Regions from separate parts of the Homo sapiens genome. Here all the other regions are linked to region 1. The links are contacts of gene promoters, found by promoter capture Hi-C in blood cells and fetal thymus (Javierre and others, 2016). All regions are on one chromosome and are shown on one strand. The core of a region is centred on a gene start or on the middle of the fragment in contact, and the rest is flanking DNA. Distances in the headings are between cores, read along the strand shown. Region 1 holds the start of UFC1 (ubiquitin-fold modifier conjugating enzyme 1). Region 2 overlaps F11R (F11 receptor). Region 3 holds the start of SDHC (succinate dehydrogenase complex subunit C).

What was found. The method cuts DNA at HindIII sites, captures the fragments that hold promoters and counts their contacts. A CHiCAGO score of 5 or more calls a contact.
Region 2: a contact is called between a fragment that was not itself captured here and the fragment with the promoter of UFC1 in region 1, in 1 of 17 cell types (erythroblasts). The highest score is 5.1, in erythroblasts.
Region 3: a contact is called between the fragment with the promoter of SDHC here and the fragment with the promoter of UFC1 in region 1, in 2 of 17 cell types (naive CD4 T cells and M1 macrophages). The highest score is 6.1, in naive CD4 T cells.

The regions. Positions count from the first base shown.
Region 1 is chr1:161,152,539-161,155,238 of GRCh38, reverse strand. UFC1 (ubiquitin-fold modifier conjugating enzyme 1) reads right to left here and starts at 1,261. Exons shown (of 6, transcript NM_016406.4): 1 at 1,119-1,261. The coding sequence starts at 1,241. RefSeq lists enhancers at 954-1,343, 1,384-1,433, 1,524-1,573, 462-1,661, 899-1,679. The HindIII fragment of the contact is 16,464 bases long and covers 1-2,700 here.
Region 2 is chr1:161,014,162-161,016,874 of GRCh38, reverse strand. All of the region lies in intron 1 of F11R (F11 receptor), which reads left to right. Among named protein-coding and RNA genes, the nearest start is that of F11R, 5.6 kb to the left of the region's middle. RefSeq lists enhancers at 373-970, 2,612-2,713. The HindIII fragment of the contact is 7,117 bases long and covers 1-2,713 here.
Region 3 is chr1:161,312,978-161,315,682 of GRCh38, reverse strand. It overlaps SDHC (succinate dehydrogenase complex subunit C), which reads right to left and starts at 1,302. Exons shown (of 6, transcript NM_003001.5): 1 at 1,258-1,302. The coding sequence starts at 1,277. RefSeq lists silencers at 1,252-1,321, 1,352-1,411 and an enhancer at 963-1,726. The HindIII fragment of the contact is 7,788 bases long and covers 1-1,742 here.

The sequences.
Region 1 (2,700 bases), core at 12-2,511:
GCTCAAGCATTACCTCTTCCAGGAAACCTTCCGTGACCGAATGCAAACTGGATGTCTCCTCTTATGCTCTCAAAACATCCTAGCCATTTCTCGCTTTATATCTGTCCATATCTGTCTCAGTCTCTCTCCACTTAAACACTGTATTATAATGATCTGGTTTTGTCTACCTCAGTAAGTTCCTCCTTATTCGGCTTGGTATCTCCTCCCTAGGTTCTATATGCACAGTAATTTTTTTTTTTTAGTGAATGAATACATGAGGTAGGAGAACTAGAACTGCTGGTCTTTGAAGCAGGCAGAAACTACAAGGAAGACAAACTTTTCTCACCTTCCACAGTAGAGATAACTGAGAAGACAGCCCGTTTCTAACTATGAGCTAAACTCCCCAACTCTCTGTAGTTAACACCTACTTGAATTTTCAGCCCTAATGTGGCTTGAAAGAGTGAAGAGTGAGGCCAGGCGCGGTGGCTCACGCCTGTAATCTCAGCACTTTGGGAGGCCGAGGCGGGTGGATCAGGATCACGAGGTCAGGGGATCGAGACCATCCTGGCCAACACGGTGAAACCCCGTCTCTACTGAAAATACAAAAATTAGCTGGGTGTGGTGGCGCGCGCCTGTAGTCCCAGCTACTCAGGAGGCTGAGGCAGGAGACTCGCTTGAACCCGGGAGTCGGAGGTTGCAGTGAGCCGAGATCGCGCCACTGCACTCCAGCCTAGCAACAGAGCGAGACTCCGTCAAACAAACAAACAAAACAGTGAAGAGTGAAGAAGGGGGCAGAGAGATGCGGACTGGGAGTTGGCGCCCTGAGGATTTTTGTTCACATCCAGGTGAACAAACACCTGTAGCCAGGGAGACACGTCACCTTCTGGGGAAGCGTATCCCTAAAATAACTGCTGCTTTTAGCCGCAAGGTCTGGCCCCACTGTGCACCTCACCCGAGTCTTTTTTGCCCTCTCCCCACCATCCCTCCTTAGTCCCCGAGCCCCACAATAGTCCCATTTCTATGAATTTGGGCGTTAAACTTAAAAACCGGAAGCGGCTTCCACACGGAGCCTATTATTGAGGACACCTGATTTCTCCCAACCCTTATGCTACGCGTTAGACTGTAGAAACACAACTAACCCGGATAAGGGACTGATATTCCTCCTTCAGTCGCTGCACCCACAACTCACGATCTCGGGGTCCGGCGTTAGTCTTCAGCACCGGGATCTCAGACACAACACGTCGCGTGGCTTCATCCGCCATCTTGGACCAGGGCGCAAGAGAAACGCGGAAGTGGTGTTGCCTGTAGCTTACCTCAAGGCGCCGTCATCTTTACTATGGGAAGATGAGACGTTGGGTTGCTGTAAGACCTCTTTTGAATAAGATCTTTGTTTTCTTGTCACCTAGTTACCCGCTTGTGAGTGCATCGAGAAGAACAGAATGTAAACAGATTACTCCGTCCTATATATGACACCTATCATTAAAATCACCGCATAAGGCACAAAGGGTGACTTCCGTTCATGCTCAGAGAAGTAATCGCAGAAAACCCGGACACCTTCCCAAACTTGGAAAGCTCTTAGAACTTCAGGCTGCTGAAGGCATTTTTACTTATTTATTTATTTTTATTATACCTTAAGTTCTAGAGTACATGTGCACAACGTGCAAGTTTGATACATAGGTATACTTGTGCCATGTTGGTTTGCTGCACCCATCAACTCGTCATTTACATTAGGTATTTCTCCTAATGCTATCCCTCCCCCAGCCCCGAGCCCCCAACCCCAAGGCGCTTTTCAAGGCACTGACTTCCTAAAACGAGCGATTCGTGTTTCCTCTTCGAAGAACTTTTCCTTTGCTTATATATAGTCCTGCCTCTAGATGCAGTTATCCTGTAGAAGGATGTTTAACTCCTGATAAAGATTAGAAACCATGCAGAATCAAAAGACAAATCCCTGCAAGATTTCTGCCTTAGTCTAGCCATTCACTGAGTCCTAGACTTTTTTTTTTTTAGACAGTGTCTCAATCTGTTGCCCAGGCTGGAGTACAGTGGTACGATCATAGCTTACTGCATCTTCCATCTCCCGGGCTCAAGCGATCCTCCTGCCCCAGCCTCCCCAAAGTGCTGGGATTACTTGTGGGGAAACAATAAACAAACTCCAGTTGGACTTAAAATCTAAACACATTAATTTTTGCTTTTTTTTTTTTTTTTTTTGGAGACCGAGTTTCACTCTTGTTGCCCAGGCTGGAGTGCAATGGCATGATCTCGGCTCACCGCAACCTCCGCCTCCCGGGTTCAATTGATTCTCCTGCCTCAGCGTCCTGAGTAGCTGGGATTACAGGCATGTGCTACCACGCCCGGCTGATTTTGTATTTTTAGTAGAGACCGGGTTTCGCCATGTTGGCCAGGTTGGTCTTGAACTCCTGACCTCAGGTGATCCACCTGCCTCAGCCTCCCAAGGTGCTGGGATTACAGGCGTGAGCCACCGCGCCGGCCATTTTGGCTTTAATTTAAATATCCTGTTTGGCTGGCGTGGTGGCTCAAGCCTGTAATCCCAGCAACTTGGGAGGCCAAGGCAGGTGGATCACTTGAGGTCAGGAGCTCCAGACCAGCCTGACTGGTGAAACCCGTCTCTACTAACAATACAAAATTAGCTAGGCATGGTGGCGCACGCTTGTAGTCCCGGCTACTTGGAGGCTGAGGCGGGAGAATCGCTTGAACCCGGGA
Region 2 (2,713 bases), core at 139-2,638, 140 kb after region 1:
AGACACAGTAACAATCTGATCTCTCTTGCTTTTCCCCACACTGGTGAGTCACTCCTCCTTTCCTCTCCCTCTACTCCCAGGAGTGAATTGTTCCCTCCAAACTAGAAACTGGTGACTGGCACTTCCTAGTTCTACCTGGAACTAGGAAACGAGTGGCAGTGGAATTTCAGTGTCCTTTAGTCTTTGCCTTCTGGCTCCAGATCACTTTTTTTTTTTTTGAGACGGAGTCTCATTCTGTTACCCAGGCTGGAATGCAGTAGCATGATCTTGGCTCACTGCAACCTCCACCTCCCGGCTTCAAGCGATTCTCCTGCCTTAGCCTCCCCAGCAGCTGGGACTACAGGCACGCGCCACCACGCCCGGCTAATTTTTTGTATTATTTATTTATTTATTTGTTTTTGAGACAGAGTCTCTCTCTGTCGCCAGGCTGGAGTACAGTGGCACGATCTCGGCTCACTGCAAACTCCACCTCCCGGGTTCATGCCATTCTCCTGCCTCAGCCTCCTGAGTAGCTGGGACTACAGGCGCCCGCCACCATGCCTGGCTAATTTTTTCTATTTTTAGTTGAGACGAGGTTTCACTGTGTTAGCCAGGATGGTCTTGATCTCCTGACCTCATGATCTGCCCGCCACGGCCTCCAAAAGTGCTGGGATTACAGGCGTGAGCCACCGCGCCCGGCCCCTAATTTTTTGTATTTTTAGTAGAGACGGGTTTTCACCATGTTGGCCAGGCTGGTCTCGAACTCCTGACTTCAAGTAATCCTCTTGCCTAGGCTTTCCAAAGTGCTGGGATTACAGGCGTGAACCCCTGCACCTGGCCACTCCAGACCACTTTTACCTCACCATGTTGCTCTTCAGTTCCTTTGTGATCATGTCTTGTGGAGTCTCCAGCCCAGTTCCGATTCAAGATAGAGCTACTGTGATTTTTTTTAAAAAAATTTAATTAGAATAGGTTAATTGACATGGTTTTATAATTAAAATGATATCAAAGGGGTGGGGTATCTCATTCCCATGTTGCTCCTGTTCACCCCAAACCCCAATAGTTTCTAATGTCTCTTCAGTGTTTCATTTTACAGATACAAGTATATATAAATAATACTTGTTTTTTCTCCCCTTTCTGACACAAAAAGAGGCATACTACATATATTCTACATCTTGCTTATATATATATATCATGGAGTTTTGTTGTTGTTGTTGTTGTTTTTGAAACAGGGTCTCACTCTGTTGCCCAGGCTGGAGTACAATGGCATGATCATAGCTCACTGCAGCCTTTTTTTTTTTTTTTGAGACAAAGTCTTGCTGTGTTGCCCAGGGAGGAGTCCAGTGGCGTGATCTTGTCTCACTGCAGACTCTGCCTCCCAGGTTCAAGTGATTCTCCTGCCTCAGCCTCCCGAGTAGCTGGGACACAAGCGTGCACCACCATTCTTGGCTAATTTTTGTGTGTGTGTATATATATATATATATATATTTTTTTTTTTGAGATGGAGTCTGGCTCTGTCACCCAGGCTGGAGTGCACTGGAGCAATCTCGGCTCACTGCAAGCTCCGCCTCGCGGGTTCACGCCATTCTCCTGCCTCAGCCTCCCGAGTAGCTGGGACTACAGGGGCCCGCCACCACTCCGGCTGATTTTTTGTATTTTTTTTAGTAGAGACGGGGTTTCACCGTGTTAGCCAGGATGGTCTCGATCTGCTGACCTCGTGATCTGCCTGCCTCGGCCTCCCAAAATGCTGGGATTACAGGCATGAGCCACTGTGCCCAGCCTTTTGTACATATTTTTTTAATTTAATTTTTTTTTTTTGAGATGGAGTCTTGCTCTGTTACCCAGGCTGGAGTGCAGTGGCGTGATCTCGGCTCACTGCAAGCTCTGCCTCCCGGGTTCACGCCATTCTCCTGCCTCAGCCTCCCAAGTAGCTGGGACTACAGGCACCCGCCACCATTCCCTGCTAATTTTTTTTTTTTTTTGTATTTTTAGTAGAGATGGGATTTCACCATGTTAGCCAGGATGGTCTTGATCTCCTGGCCTTGTGATCTGCCCCCATTGGCCTCCCAAAGTGCTGGGATTACAGGTGTGAGCTGCCCGGCTAATTTTTGTATTTTTAGTAGAGATAGGGTTTCACCATGTTGGCCAAGCTGGTCTTGAATTCCTGACTTCAAGTGATCCGCCTGCCTTGGCCTCCCAAAGTGCTGGGATTACAGGCATGAGCCACCGTGCCTGGCCTCACTGCAGCCTTGACCTCCTGGGTTCAAGCAATCCTCCAGTCTTAGCCTCCTGAATAGCTGAGGCTATAGGCAAGTGTGAGTGGTGAGCCATACCTGGCTAATTTTTTATTTTTTTAGTACAGACAGGGTCTCATCTGTTGTACAGGCTGGTCTTGAATTCTTGGCTTTAAGGGATCCTTTTGCCTTGGCCTTTCAAAATGCTGAATGACAGGTATGAGTCACTACACCTGGCCCATATTGGTTTCTAGGGATTGTGGCCTTGGCTGTTAGGATACATCCCACCCCCCTCCAAGTCAGCTGAGTTCAATTTGCACTTGTTCTGTGGACACATAAATGGGCAACACACGTTTCCACCACACCCAAAAATAGATTTAAATGCCATGCACATTTTATGTGATAATAATGAGACTTGTTTATCACATCTGTTAGGTTTGACTAGAGACCCTGGAGATCTCTAAACTCAAACCAGTTTCTGTTTCAGAGATTCAGGAAAG
Region 3 (2,705 bases), core at 53-2,552, 160 kb before region 1:
TGATACTGTATGGATACACTTAATGACTATAATGATCCTCAGCTTTTAAACACTAATTCCAAAACTCCTAAAATGAACTGTTTGGAACCAATATGATCACTTCAAACTAAATGTTAATTTTACCAAAAGCCCCTAACATCGATACCAAAATATATCAGAGAATTCAAAAGCATTCAATTATGGTCAAACCATCTGGAATAAAGAAGACAGCACTGGCAAGACAAGCCTTGGCATACCTTAGACAGAAGATACATATGGAGATGAAAAACAGGGAGAAAATGAAGGATTAAGATAACCCTGATTTCAACTCCAAGAGGAATCATTTTGTCACAGAAAAACTAAACAAAGTCCCTCTATTTTTAAACTGGGTGACTGAAGTGGAAAGAGAAATGAGAACACATTTGGGGAAATCAGGGATTGAAATCTCAACAGCATTGAAGCTAACTTTCCATAACAAACAATTTCCAAAAATAAGGCTGGCACAAAACTATGCTGGGATTTGTACCAGGCGTGTCTAAAGGCGCTAGTCGCTGTGACTAGAGAGGCTGAGCAGAGAATGAGACCTAGACAGCGGAAAGTTCAGAATGAAAGAAAATCTAGGGTATTTCTCTGGACAACTAATTCACATTTTAGAGAAAAACTGGGACACTCACTCTCCCTCCCAAGTAAAATGATTAACTAAAAATGAATTCCCCGGGTTGCTCTGGGGCAGCAGAGGTCCGCCCTGGGTGCTAATGCTAATCGCCACCCCAGTAGGGATCCACCCTTTGCCAGCAGCCCGCTGGGAACCCAGACAGCGCCCACTCACGGTGGGAGCAGCTAGTGTCTGAAGGCATTCGAAGCAAAGGCAAAATACACGAAGATCTCTCTCTCCGAAGCTAAATGTCTAAATACGCTCTCGAAATCGTAGGACCCATGGGTGGCTGACCTTGAAGTTATTTTCTCAGAGCTCGGCTCTGGGTGCAGGCCCGAGAGCAATTTGCGTTAGAAGTACTAGAGGAGGTGGGGAAAACAGAAGGGGCGAGAGCCGAGGGCCCCTCGATACGAAGTCAGTGACCCCGAAGCCCTACGGAGCGCACCGGAGCGGCTGGGGGGGACGGGAAAAGGGGTCTCTAGGATCCCCGAGCGCTTGGCCTCCACACCCATGGGTCCTTTCCCTGCCCAGGCACAGGATAAACAGTTATCAGCAAAACGTGAGGGGCCAGTTCAGATCTCCGGAGGGCCGCAGGCACCAACTCCCAGTCCCACTGAAGTCACCTCAGCAACAGCGCAGCCATCTTGGGTTCCGGTCTGGACGGAAGTGACGCCAGGCGGCCCCGCCACCCGAGGGCGGAGGCGCGCCGGCTGGGGGTCGGGGTTGGGGGTGTCATGTGACGAGAGTCTCTTTAAAAGGCTCTGGAGCTTCTCCGCTCAGCTCTGCCTAGCTGGTTTGCTGGTTGTTTTCTGGTTTTTTAGTCTCCTCCTCCGCCTCCTGCAGCCGACTTCTACCGGAATTTGCCAGGATTTCGGCAGAAACGCCGCTGGCTCAAAATCTGCAGTCTACGTTCCACCTGCGTACATATTCATTTTGTATCGCACTCCCAAACAGCAAACGGCGGACTTGTTTAGATTCTTCCTTAAGGACTTCGCAGTCTGTTGCGTTCCCCCTGCCTCCCAGGTCGGCCTAAAAACGTGGTGGTTGGCCGGTTGAGACCCCGAAGAGAAAAGATACTTTGGGTTCCCTCCCTTTCTAATACGAAGCTTTAACCAGACAGATACATAAATTGTGACCTAAGTTGGGGAGTGTGTAGAGGGGCCTCGAGAAGACCTTGCGGACCACCATTCCCGAAAACGAGGAGCCTCATCTAACCACCTCGATTAGACCCCACAATTCCTGGGTTTGAGCTGCCACATGGACCAGGCGCCCACTAGCCGAGGACAATGCTCCCTTGTTCGTTGTTTCAGCGCTATGTGGGTGACACCCACAGCTAGAAGAACCCGGAGTGAGGGGAAGAACACGCTTTGATTTATATATGTGTATATATATATATACAGTTTTAGGGAACCCAAGCACAGGAATCAACTGCCGAGCACTCAAGACTGAAGAAAGAAGAAGAGCAAATGATAAAGGAAGGGAACAGAGCACAAAAGTTCTTGACTCTTGTGGGGAGTAGGGTGGAGAGGAGTAAAAGGGACAGGCTAGAGCAACTCCTATTTCTACAAAAAAAATACTCAATTATATTAATATTCAGATCTTATGTATATTTAGCATCCCTGCACTTCAGGATTTAAATAGCACAAATTCACTTATTTCTGCATCAGATGAATAATACTACTTTGCATTTCTATAATGCTTGACAAAGCACATTCGTACACTTTAGGATTGAAAGAGGCTCTCTAATCCAATCTACTATCTATGCAGGGATCTCCTCTGCAACACCCATAACAGCTGATCTTCAAGACTCTACCCCCCCATATTCAATGATGGGTACCTCAAACAACAAGTTTTATTTAATGAACAACTTATTCGTTAGTTATTATATTTAAATACAGTTTTGTGCTATCGAAATTCCAGTCATTGACTTGGCTCTCTGGAGCTTCACGTTAACAAACCCAAGGAATGCCTTTTTCACTCAGATCTTTTTTGGTTTTTCTTTTTCTTTTTCTTTTTCTTTTATTTTGAGACGTAGTCTCACTCTGTCGCCCAGGTTGGAGTGCAGTGGCGC